Regions from separate parts of the Homo sapiens genome. Here all the other regions are linked to region 3. Evidence: promoter capture Hi-C in human tissues and cell types (Jung and others, 2019). All regions are on one chromosome and are shown on one strand. The core of a region is centred on a gene start or on the middle of the fragment in contact, and the rest is flanking DNA. Distances in the headings are between cores, read along the strand shown.

The links. Contacts are between HindIII fragments. The study calls those that stand out against the background at their distance.
Region 1: a fragment that was not itself captured here is called in contact with the fragment with the promoter of CD38 in region 3 in 1 of the 25 tissues and cell types used here (H1 embryonic stem cells).
Region 2: a fragment that was not itself captured here is called in contact with the fragment with the promoter of CD38 in region 3 in 1 of the 25 tissues and cell types used here (lymphoblastoid cells).

What each region holds. Positions count from the first base shown.
Region 1 is chr4:17,050,050-17,054,257 of GRCh38, forward strand. No RefSeq gene overlaps it. Among named protein-coding and RNA genes, the nearest start is that of LINC02493, 130 kb to the right of the region's middle. The HindIII fragment of the contact is 6,550 bases long and covers 1-4,208 here.
Region 2 is chr4:14,177,403-14,181,618 of GRCh38, forward strand. The region is part of intron 1 of LOC124900670 (a long non-coding RNA gene); the gene reads left to right. Among named protein-coding and RNA genes, the nearest start is that of LINC01085, 68 kb to the left of the region's middle. RefSeq lists an enhancer at 1,103-1,397. The HindIII fragment of the contact is 3,286 bases long and covers 741-4,026 here.
Region 3 is chr4:15,775,873-15,779,899 of GRCh38, forward strand. CD38 (CD38 molecule) reads left to right here and starts at 2,456. Exons shown (of 8, transcript NM_001775.4): 1 at 2,456-2,775. The coding sequence starts at 2,543. RefSeq lists enhancers at 2,241-2,883, 2,295-2,794 and silencers at 2,925-2,974, 3,165-3,214. The HindIII fragment of the contact is 9,174 bases long and covers 1-4,027 here.

The DNA.
Region 1 (4,208 bases), core at 920-3,419, 1.3 Mb after region 3:
AGTGAGCAGCAATATTTTGAAAGGAGCCTTTTTTTCCCTGAACAATAGATCTTAACTGTGGGCTTAAAATATTCAGTTAACTATGCTATAAGCAGATGCGCTGTCATCCAGGATTTGTTCTTCCACTTATAGAGCTCAGGGTAGATTTAGCATGATTTAAGGACCCTAGGATTTTAAGAGTGGTAGATGAGCCTTGGCTTCAACCTAAAGTCACCAGGTGCATTAGCCCCTGACAAGAGAGTCAACCTGTCCTTTGAAGCTCTGAAGCCAGGCATTGACTTCTCCTCTCTAGCTATGAAAGTCCTAGAGGCATCTTTGGCATCTTCTTCTAATACAAGGTTATTTTGTCTATGTGGCAAATCTGTTGTTTAGTGTAGACACCCTCATCAGTTGTCTTGGCTAGATCTTCTGGGTAACAGTGTAGCTTCTTCATCAGCATTTGCTGTGTGTCACCTTGTACTGCTTCACCTTCTTTCATAAACTAAAAGTAGATAGAAGTGGTTTCTTTTCTTAAACCTCATGAACCCACCTCTGCTAGCTTCAGACTTTTCTTCTGCAGCTTTCTCACTTCTCTCAGCCTTCATAGATCTAAAGAGAGTTAGGGTCTTGCTTTGGACTAGGGTTTGGCTTAAGGGAATGTTAACAGCCGGTTTGATCTTTCATCTGGATCATTCAAGCTTTCTCCATATCAGCAATAAGGCTGTTTTGCTTTTTTTTTTTAATCATTTGTGGGTTCACTGGAGTAGCACTTTTAATTTCCTTCATAAACTTTTCCTTTGCATTGACAACTTGGCCTAACAGTTTGGCACAAGAGGTTTTGTTTTCAGCCTGCCTGGACTTTCAACATGACCTTTCTCACTAAGCTTAATTATTTCTAGTTTTTTACTTAAGTGTGAGATGTGTGACTCTTCCTTTCACTTGAATACTTAGAGGCCATTGTACGGTTATTAATTGCCCTAATTTCAATATATAGATATATAGATTTATATATATATTTATATTTATATCTATGTTACATACATATGTTACATATATATATGTGTGTGTGTATATATATATATATATATATATCTCAGGGAATAGGGACCCATGAGGGGAGAGAGAAGAGGAGGGGGAGGGAGGTGGGGGAAGAGTCAGTGAGTAGAACAGTCAGAACACACACGACATTTATCAATTAAGTTCACCATCTTATATGAGTGAGATTTGTGGTGCCCCAAAACAATTATAATAATGACATCAAAGATCACTGATCACAAATGAAAAATTTTGAAATACTGTAATAATTATCAAAATGTGACACAAAGACATAAAATGAGCACATTATTTCTTTTTTTTTTTTTTTTTTTTTTTTTTTTTTTTTTTTTGACAGAGTCTCACTCTGTCGCATGGGCTGGAGTACAGTGGTGCGATCTCAGCTCACTGCAACTTCTGCCTCCCAGGCTCAAGCAATTCTCCTGCCTCAGCCTACTGAGTAGCTGGGATTACAGGTGCATGCCACCATGACCATCTAATTTTTGTATTTTAGTAGAGACGGCATTTCACCATGTTAGCCAGGCTGGTCTTGAACTCCTGACCTCAGGCAATCCACCCACCTCCACCGCCCAAAGTGCTGGGATTACAGGTGTTAGCCACCACACCTGGCAAAATGAGCACATTCTATTGGAAAAATGGCGCAATGGACTTGCTCGGCACAGGGTTACTACAAATCTTCAATTTGTAAAAAACGCAATAAAATAAAGCTTAGTAAAACAAAATATGCCTGTGTTAATTATTAAACCTACCATGAGATCCTGATATTTAATGACTTCAAGAGGCCCATATATGAGACACTACACATTTTAAGCATGTTTGAGAACTTACTTTAATTGAATTGCAATCCTGCATCTTTTATGGATTTAAACATTATCCTGGGAAGGGGATCCATGGGCTTTGTCAAATTGCCAAAGGCATCTTTGGCATAAAAATGGTTAAGAATCGTTTTTTCTTTTTAAGTGATGTAACTGGGTGAGTTATTAAGAAAAACTGGTGTCAGCATCTCCTTCCTCTTCTATAATATTATATCCAGGTATTCCCTGTATTTCCAAATGAGTCACTCTGGAGGAGCTGGAGCCCAAAGGAAGGGCTTGGAGAAGTAGAAACAGAAACAGCTCACTGGGAGAGGGAAGCACAGTATTAGGAAAAGATGGAGTTTGCGTGGTTGTTGGCAGTAAAAGATAGCTGCACTCCTTCTTTGCAGTCCCATAGGGAGGTATGACAACCTAATATTCATGGGTAAACAGCAAGCCAGTGGGCCCAGGGGCTGGCAGAGACATGAAGGCTCCCACCTTCAGCACTGACTCCCTTGCAAAGCACAGCACAGAGCAGTGAACCTTCTGAGTTAGGACAGTTCACATTGCAGCAAGGACCTTGGTGTTCTAAAGACCAGAGACCCTGGACACTCCCTAACCCCTGTTCACACACATGTACAAAGAAAAAACAATAGAAATGAAATTTTTTGCCTCCTGGTGAACCAGGACTTAAAGTCCAATTTTCTTAAATAAATATTGTGCCATTTCTTATTTCCAAGTGTTGTAGCTGAAGAAAATTCACGTCTGCTTTCCTAAGACCTGAAAGTTGAGTAAGAGTTAACTAAGGAAGGTTGGTGGGATCAGGGCTGTACTTGACAGGAAGCAGCATGTGCAAAGGCCCAGGGGTGAGAGACAGGATGACACTGGTGGAAGGGAAGGCCAGTGAGCCTCAGGGTAAGACAGGAGAGGGAGATGGAAGCCTGCACCACAGAATCTTCCTTGAGATGGGCCATGCTCAGGAATGTGGCCTTTCTCATCCCAACACTGGGATGGCTTCAAGTGTGTGTATAGGTTTTAAGGATGTGGTTAGGGTGGAGTGAGCAGAAAAGAAGGGTGTGAAATGATGAAATTTGCATTTTACATAAATCTCTTTGGCTAAAGTGTGGAGAAAACATTGGAGAAGGAAATAAATAGGTGAGCAGAGGCACTTTCAAAATCTACTGCAACTGTCCCATGAGAGGTAATGGTAGCTTGGACCAGTGAGGAGGCAGTGAAGGCAGAGAGGAGTGAGGGCATTCAAGAAAGAGGAAATCAACCCAAGCAGGTGTGGGGATGGAGCAGGCCTCTAGGGTGAGAGACGCTGGGGTACTTGGCACATATGCGTGGGGATATGGCACTCCTTAAGGTGGTATCATTCCCTGGCATAGAGCTCCCTGAGGAAGAAACAGGGAAGAAGGGAGAAATCAGGAGTCTGCTTATGACAATATTGTAAATGAGGTGCTGGTGAGATATAAATAGTTGGATGTGTGGGTGTAGAGAGTAGTATCCATTAGCTGTACAGGTTCAAGTAGAGATCTTCACATCTTCAAATTTTATGCTACTCTCCATTATCCTTGGCCTTTGCACATGGCAATGATAAAGATGATTACAATGATGATGATGATGACGATGATGATGATGACGAATAACGTTCATTGACAATTACCTTGTTCTAGGCACTTTGGTGCATTTTAAATTTAATTATTATGACTACACTGTATGTTTGATTACTATCCCATTTCATGCTTGAGAAACTGAGGCGTAAGATCACATAGCCAATCAGTAGCAGAGGCATGATCTAGACCCAGACAATTTGTTCCATAAAATGGAGATACCAATCATATTCACTTTATAGGATTGTTATGAAGATTAAATTTCAAATGATAATAACTGACATTTATGAAGCACCAGACATTCTTTTAAGGGCTTTTAAATTTAATCAGTAAAACAACATTATGAAGTAAATAGTACTTATTATTATCTCCATTTTTGACATGAGAAAACACAATTACAGGGAGCTTGAATAACTTGCTTGTGGTTAGTAAGTCAAAGCAAAGATTGAGACTCAAGTTTTCTAGCTCCAGAGTCTATGGTCTTGACCACTACAGATTCATAAAGTGATGAAGACAGTTCCTGCTACAGGGCAAGCATTCAATGGCACAGTCCAGGAAATTAAAACAAATTTGTCTCAGGACCTACCCAATGACACTGATCCTTTGCAAAAGATAAGGATCTAAGCCTACATTTGCATTAAGGGCTAAGAGCTGAAATGTAAGAACACCTGCCAAGGGAGCACAAAGTAGATGCTCAATAAGTATTTGTTAAACGATAAATAAATGGATAAGCCCTGGATGAGATTAGTAAATGGATCAGAATATAGGA
Region 2 (4,216 bases), core at 1,134-3,633, 1.6 Mb before region 3:
GCCAGCCATGGCCCCAGGGAGAAGCAACAATTATTGACTAGCATCAGAGGCTCAAACTGAGGCAGGCTGACCTCTGGGAGTAAGGAGGGATGGAAGGTGAGTCAGTGGAGCAGGAGAGAAAACCAATTTGGGGAAGCTTTGCTTAGAAAGGAATGAAAGTTAGGGCCTGATAGGTAAAGCAGAAGAAAAGGAAAATTTAAATACTGTCTTCACAGAATGATTCCAGAACTTGACAGGCCAGATTGTAGCACAATTAAAGGTGTAAAAAGTTGTATGGCTAAAGGAATTTAACCACTTTGAAGTTTATACACCACACAAAGCAAAGAGAGGAGGTAATTGGCCAGAACTCTAGTTTTGGTTGTTTTAGAGCATGGAAAGAAAAACAGTCACAGGATGGATCTTCCTTTCTTGCTGGCACTTCTTTGAGAAATCACAAGAAAGAAGAGGCCTTTCTAAGGCTTTGGAGAGCCAGATGGTTCTTTAAACATGGACTTTCCTCAGGCCTTTAGCCAGGGAAGTCCTGTGCTAGTAAAAATTTAACAACTGACTTTCTGGGACAAAACAAAACCCTCTAATTTGTGATGTTTACTGATCTCCATGGTGTGAATACTTTCACATGGCTCATTTCTAGCTAACATCAAGAAGTCACTGAACAAGGAATTGGGAAGAGCTGCATTCAATTGGTCTTGCTTGCCTGTGTGACCCAGTGTGAGCTGGTTTCAGCACACCAGTGTAGTCTTGGTCTCCTTTGTCATTTTTTTCTGAATGCCGTCTTTCCAGTATGCAGGCTTTGACTAAGCATTTAGGCAGAACTGAAACATTCAAATTAATGCCATTTCAGGTACCCACTGGTCTCAAGGTGGTAGTTTCTATCTTTGTGACTTGCCATCCATACCACCCCTTTCGACGTACACTGCTTTCTAGCAGCAGAAAGCCAGCTTGAAACTTCTGTGACAAATGAGGTCCACCAAAAATTTTTAGAACAACAAAAAATAAACTAGTAGGGAAAAAGTGGCCTAAATAAATGGGTCATGCAAGTAGAATTAAAATTGTAATTTTTGCTATTTGGTGATTTGGAGAAGACTTAGCTTTTATGCATTTTGACAGAGTAGCAGCTGTTGTTATCTCTGTAACCGGGGTGTCAGAAGTAAAATGTCAAAGGTAGAGGCACTTCCTGCTTGGTTAGTCATCTGCATTTCCTGACAAAGGCCCAAGAGGAAATGGTTTCTATTCCTTGAGAAAGAAGCAAGGGAGGGGCAAGGACAGGAGTCCTGGCTGAATTCACTGTATCTAAAAGTCTTTCATTCTGCTGAATTTACATCATGAGACTGAGGCCTTGTAAAAGCTTCCTAACATAAGAAAAATGGTCTTGGATAAAACCTTCATGTTCCTTTGTCTTTTGTTTTTTGTGCATTACTAGGATTTCAGGAGTAAAATTTCATACACCAGTGTTATTAATTTAAGAATCCAAGTGGCCACACTCATCATATAGTCTGATTGTCCACTTCTGAAAACTTTTGGGGAGTATTTTTAAAATAATACATTTCAAGTACCCATTGTCTCAAGGTGGTACTTTCCATTTTTGTGTCTTTCCATATATAGTGCCCCTTAGAATATACAGGAATGGTACACTCCAGCAGCAGAAAGCCAACTTGAAACTCCTGGGTCACATACAGTCTATCAAAGATTTTTAGAACAAAAAAATAAACTAATAGGAGTTAGTTTATTCCTATGCTATCAAAATATATTTAAAAATTAACAGTGAATAATGAAGAGGCAAAAACCTATAACATGAGACACACCTACACAATTTCGTCTTTTTCATTCTAGCATTTTTACTATTTTTTTCTACTATGTTGTTTTATCCCCCAAGTGTTTAGAACAGTGAAATGTGTTTCCAGTTTATATTCTCTTTATGAAAAACAGCATTACTGAATAGATGCCAATGAGAAAAATAAACTATTAATATACCCTCTCTTTTTACCTCTTGGTTCCCAACTCCATAAATCAAAGATTTGAATACAGTCTGGTACAAGAAGTGAGAGTATTTAATTCCTAAATTTGAACTCAAGTAAAGGTGTGTGGGCTGGAGAGCTCTTTGGAAAGTGGGAGCAGACCTTTTTGTTTGTTTAACAACTGGATGATGTGGAGTTACCTCATTAGGCCCATGCAGGTTTAATGATGATTTACAGAGAATGCATTGGTAAGTCCCTGCAGAGGGCAAAAAAATGATTTTCCTTGACGATTTCTAAGACATTTGTATCCTCTTCTCCATAATTACCCCATTGGGTTTTGACTCTCTTAATAGCACAGGCATTTTCCTAAACATTTGCATTTTTTTCTGTTATTAATCCTCTTGCACAATGCTCAGTGATTTTTCTTGTTGGAGATCCTATTGCCAGTTTTCACTGGCTCTCACTCATACAGAGCTGGGGGTCATGAGATTTTTATCTTCTACCCCTTATAGCATCTATCCCAGTTGCTAAGAATGCCACTGATAGCTGGCATTTTCAGGATTTGACAATCTACCTTGCCCTTTCACAAACATTTGCTAAGTTGTTCATCACCTCCCTGTGGAGGAAACAGGAGAGAATTTTATTAGGTAGGGTGATACAAGGGGAATCCACACATTGGGAACAATATTGAGTAGCCAGGTTGAAGGTACAGGTCAATCAGCAGTTGTCTTAAAGCTTTCCTAGTATTCTGCTTGCTATTCCCACTCCTTTTGTTTATCTGAAAATATTTATTATCTGTTCAGACAGTGTAATTCACTGGGATGAAGCTCAACACAGGGAATCCCGCATGCCCTTTTCTCATAGAACATTTTAAAATTACCTTTGTAGTTGTGGTTTAGCAGGACAAAACTGGAACCATTCCCCATGTGTCATCTATGTCATCTTGGTTCTCCCCTTGCCTGTTGCTGCTAGAAAATGGGTCAGGTATTTATGGCTCAACATAGCATCCCTGGTGCCAGGATGATCCAGTTGGCCTAAGGCAGAAGGAAGCTCAAACAAAAAGGCAACATCACCAGATTGGTTCCGTGGGAGCATAAGCCTCTGAATTTGAGGTTCAGGTCACATTTCTTGGCATGATCTTCCAGTTTTATGTGCTAGCAGCAAGCAAGTGGGTTGTTAGAGTACTAGGACTGAAGTGGGCTAAAATAAAATTGGATTATGAAAGATATTCCAATGGTCAATGACACTTATACATTTTCATGAAATAAAACAAACAACTTTCTCCTTTGAATTGAGGTAGAATCATTTCAACATCCACTCTCATGATCCATCCATGCATGAAGATGTCAATTTTTTTCATATTCCACAAGACACTCACTCTCTTATCATTGGCAAATTCAGAGAGTGTTTACTAAAAGCTATGTCTATTAGGGAGGCAGTGAGGGTGTTGAGGGATTCTGGTAATAGTAATGATGTTATTATCACAGCTCAACTGAGCCTCAGAGTGACTTTCCTGATGTTCACAATTGGTCAAGAGTAAAGATAGAGTTTGAATCCAATTCTTTTGATATCAGGCCTCCTAACTTTGAATCCAATTTTCTGTCCTCTATGGAACTGTTGGTGCCTGCATATAGAGTATTCAATAAAGGTTTGCTGAACTAGATTGAATAAAACTGAAGGCCAAAGGGAGTTTTAGCCCTGCCTTTCCAATGAAGGCAATTTCCTATTGACCAGACTCTCACCTTTCTGTTCTGCCTCTGAGTTCATTTGATAAGAGACTTGATTTGGGCTTGTTTTAGCAGATAAGTTGAGTTAATATTTATTTTAGGAAAGTGGGATTAGTGAAGATAGGTAGGGAATGAATTATACATTCTCTGAGCAACTGAAGGTCATTAGGAAAACATGCAGCTGCCGGAGATTTCCGGGTAAGGCTTGCACAGTGGGGGCTGGAGGTGATTTCCAAATGTTGTGGTTTCTATTTATTGGAGTTACTTTGGAAGTGGTGAGCTGGGACAATTACGCTGTTAATTCAGATAAAAGGGAACTTTTTAATAGAGAGAGTGACAAATCACTATGTAAATATGGAGAACGCAGCTTCCAAGACTGGCAGACAGTGCAAGGTATGGGGACGTGAGAATCATAGGATTTGAGTGTTTTGCTGACTCTGTATGAGTCAGAAACCAAAAGAGGGGCATGAAGTGAGAGAACCAACTCAACTAGCAAAAGAGACCCGGCAAGGGGAGCCATTCTAATGCAGAATC
Region 3 (4,027 bases), core at 1,206-3,705:
GAATGGGTTAAAAATAAAATCCAAAAACAGGCACATAGACCAATGAAACAGAATAGAGATCTCAGAAATAAGACTCACATCTACAACCATCTGATCTTTGACAGACCTGACAAAAACAAGCAATGGGGAAAGGATTCCCTATTTAATAAATGGTGCTGGGAAAACTGGCTAGCTATACGCAGAAAATTGAAACTGGATCCCTTCCTTACACCTTTTTCAAAAATTAACTCAAGATGGATTAAAGATTTAAAATGTAAAACCCAAAACTATAAAAACCCTAGAAGAAAATCTAGGCAATACCATTCAGGACATAGGCATGGGCAAAGATTTCATAATGAAAATGTCAAAAGCAATTCCAACAAAAGCGAAAATGACAAATGGGATCCAATTAAACTCAGGAACTTCTGCACACCGAAAGAAACTATAATCAGGGTGAACAGACAACCTACAGCATGGGAGAACATTTTCAAAATCTATCCATCTGACAAAGGTCTAATATCCAGAATCTACAAGGAACTTAAACTAATTTATAAGAAATAAACAACCCCATTAAAAAGTGGGCAAAGGACATGAACAGATATTTCTCAAAAGAAGACATTTATATAGCCAACAAACATATGAAAAAAAGCTCAACATCATTGATCATTAGAAAAATGCAAACCAAAACCACAATGAAATATCATCTCATGCCAGTCAGAATGGTGATCATTAAAAAGTCAATAAACAACAGATGCTGGTGAGGTTGTGGAGAAATAGGAACACTTACACTGTTGATGGGAGTGTAAATTAGTTCAACCATTGTGGAAGACAGTATGGGGATTCCTCAAAGATCTAGAACCAGAAATACCATTTGACCCAGCAATCTCATTACTGGGTATATACCCAAAGGAATATAAATCATTCTGTTATAAAGATACATGCATGCATATGTTCATTGTAGCACTATTCACAATAGCAATGACATGGAATCAACCCAAATGCCCATCAATGACAGACTGGATAAAGACAATGTGGTACATATACACCAGGGAATACTGTGCAGCCACAAAAAGGAACGAGATCATGTCCTTTGCAGGGACATGGATGGAGCTGGAAGCCATTATCCTCAGCAAACTAACACAGGAACAGAAAACCAAGCACTGCATGTTCTCACTTATAAGTGGGAGCTGAACAATGAACACAGGGAGGGGAACAACACACACTGGGGCCTGTTGGGGAGAGTGGAGGGAGGGAGAGCATCAGAAAGAATAGCTAAAACATGAGGGGCTTAATACCTAAGCAATGGATTGATAGGTGCAGCAAACCACCATGGCACACATTTACCTATGTAACAACTCTGCACGTCCTGTACATGTATCCCAGAACTTAAAACAAAATAAAAAAGATAAAAAATAAATAAAACACACAGTCCAAAAAGTCATCCTGTCTTACAGAGCTATGGGTGATCTGGTCTCCTGCTACTTTCCGAACTTCTGTTCTGTTTCCCTCAACCCTCTAGCCTAACTACAATTGGCCTCCTTGCTGCTCTGGAACAGGCCAAGAGCTTTTCTGCCTCAGAGTCTTTGCACCTGCCATTTCCTCTGCTTGGGAAATGTTTGCCCCAAGGGAGTTGGGTGACTTGATCGCTCACATTACTTAGGTCTCTGCTTGAATGTCACAGATGTTCTCTTAATAAAGAAGAGGCAAGAAAAGCCACTTTATTATTTATTAAACTCCCGCATAGAGTGCAGTATTATTACTGTGTGCCAGACCCTGCTTCAAACACATTCCATGGACTATAAAATTGCATCTCTGAGCAGCTCCTAGAGCTGGTAGTAACAACTTACATTTACTGGGTGATTACCATGTGCCAGGTATTGTGCTAAACACGTTGTAGATATTAACTCACTTAATCCTCGTAACAATCCCATGAAGTAGGTACTGCTACTATCCCGGCTTTACATCTGAAGTACAGAGAGGTTAAGTAACTTGCCCCATGTCATCCAGCAAGAACTAAATTTGAACCCAGAGCTTAGCCACTGATGCCTCTTGAGAGAAGGAGTCAGACTTAAGTTGAGTCTTTAAAGGTGGTTGACCAGGCATTTGTCAGAGTTAAGAAAGAGAGGTAGGACATCCTTTTCCAGGCAGAGGGCATTGTGTGCACACACGTATAGAAGCAGGCAGCCCACCCTCATGCTTTCCAGGAAGCAAATGTGGCTCAGGTGTAAAGTGCCCGGTTGATGAAGGGAGTTAGCGGAGGGAGTATAAGGATGTACTGTCTGCCCCCTTAGGACACCTGCAGAGGATTAAGGTGGCTGTTTCTCCCTGGAGGTGGAGTGGGTGGGTCACTGCACAGGAGCCTATAGTTGTTGGTCTTTTAAACTCTTATTGGTGTAACCAGCCACGGAACTCTGAGGCAAGGGGTTGGGGGTGGGAAGGGAAACAGAGAAAAGGCAAGTGAAACAGAAGGGGAGGTGCAGTTTCAGAACCCAGCCAGCCTCTCTCTTGCTGCCTAGCCTCCTGCCGGCCTCATCTTCGCCCAGCCAACCCCGCCTGGAGCCCTATGGCCAACTGCGAGTTCAGCCCGGTGTCCGGGGACAAACCCTGCTGCCGGCTCTCTAGGAGAGCCCAACTCTGTCTTGGCGTCAGTATCCTGGTCCTGATCCTCGTCGTGGTGCTCGCGGTGGTCGTCCCGAGGTGGCGCCAGCAGTGGAGCGGTCCGGGCACCACCAAGCGCTTTCCCGAGACCGTCCTGGCGCGATGCGTCAAGTACACTGAAATTCATCCTGAGATGAGGTGGGTTGGCGACTAAGGCGCACCGGTGGGCACTGCGGGGACAGCAGGGCCCCGCGCGCAGGGAAGCCGCCCGGATCGCCCGGAACCGGGCATCTTCCGTGGCGGGTCAGCCGAGAGCCCGCCGGGTGGTGCTGAGTAGGGAGTCCCGGGCTCGGGGCTCCGCGGGCCGCTTTCAGGAGCAGCTGGCCTTGGCACCGAGCGTGCCCGCGGGAGGCGGGGGGGGGCGCTGCTCGGTGGCTCTGCTGCGTAGCCGGTGAACACTTGGCACCGATGCCCGCCTTCTGGGCAAGGTGCCCTGAGCCCAGCCCCTCGCCGGGCTGCAGCCCACCCTCGGCGCGCTCAGCCCGCTTCACCGCTTCAGGGACGGAATAGAACTCGCAGATGCAGGGTGTCGCTGACATTTTCAACTTTTTCTGCGGTTTCCGCCCGCTGTCTCTGACCCGAAAGTGCCCCCGGACGGTTACAGAGGACACTTAAGTGGTTTGCAAAGCCTGTGGTAGGGGAGGAGGGTGTAGAAGGGCCAAACCACGGAACTTAGTTTTATTCATTTATATAAAGCAGCACTCCGATTCTTTTTGCGCGGCCTGAAATGCATGTGACCAGAGAAGTAATTAACAAAACAATGTCAACTTCTAAAACCGAGACATTACTTAGATGATAAGGCGCAGCAACTCGGTGAATCTGTACAAACCTTGGAAAAAAAACACATTAGTCTATGGGACCTTCCAGTTTTCTCATGCTCCTTTCCAGCTACTAACCTCTCCTAAAGGGAACAACCACTTTTTGGATTTGATTCCCAGGCCTCGCTTTCACCGGGAAATTATCGTTGCTTGTAAAACAGAAGAAGCCGGGAAGGCAGGCAGGGGGAGCTGCTACTTTACACTCTGTGCTTTGGGATAGCAAAATCCCGCATTTAAGCAATCCGAGGAAACGAGCAAATAGACCTCCCTCGCCTCTCCGAGCACACTCAACAGTTCCGGTTGCAAAATGTTTGCCTCCTGGGCTTCCCAGCGTCCCGTTAGTTGTTCTATTTACACATAATTAGATACTTAATGGAGAGAGAAACTAGAAGTTGAGGCGTTCCTCCAGGCTGTATTGTAAAGTATGAAGTGAAATCCAAAATGAAATGGTAATGTTAGAAAGCAACCTCATTAAAAAAAAAAAAAGTAACACTGGTCTTGAAGATCTTTCAATGTGAGTACATAAAGATCTATCTCATTTCTTTTGACAGCCCATAGTATTTCATAAACTA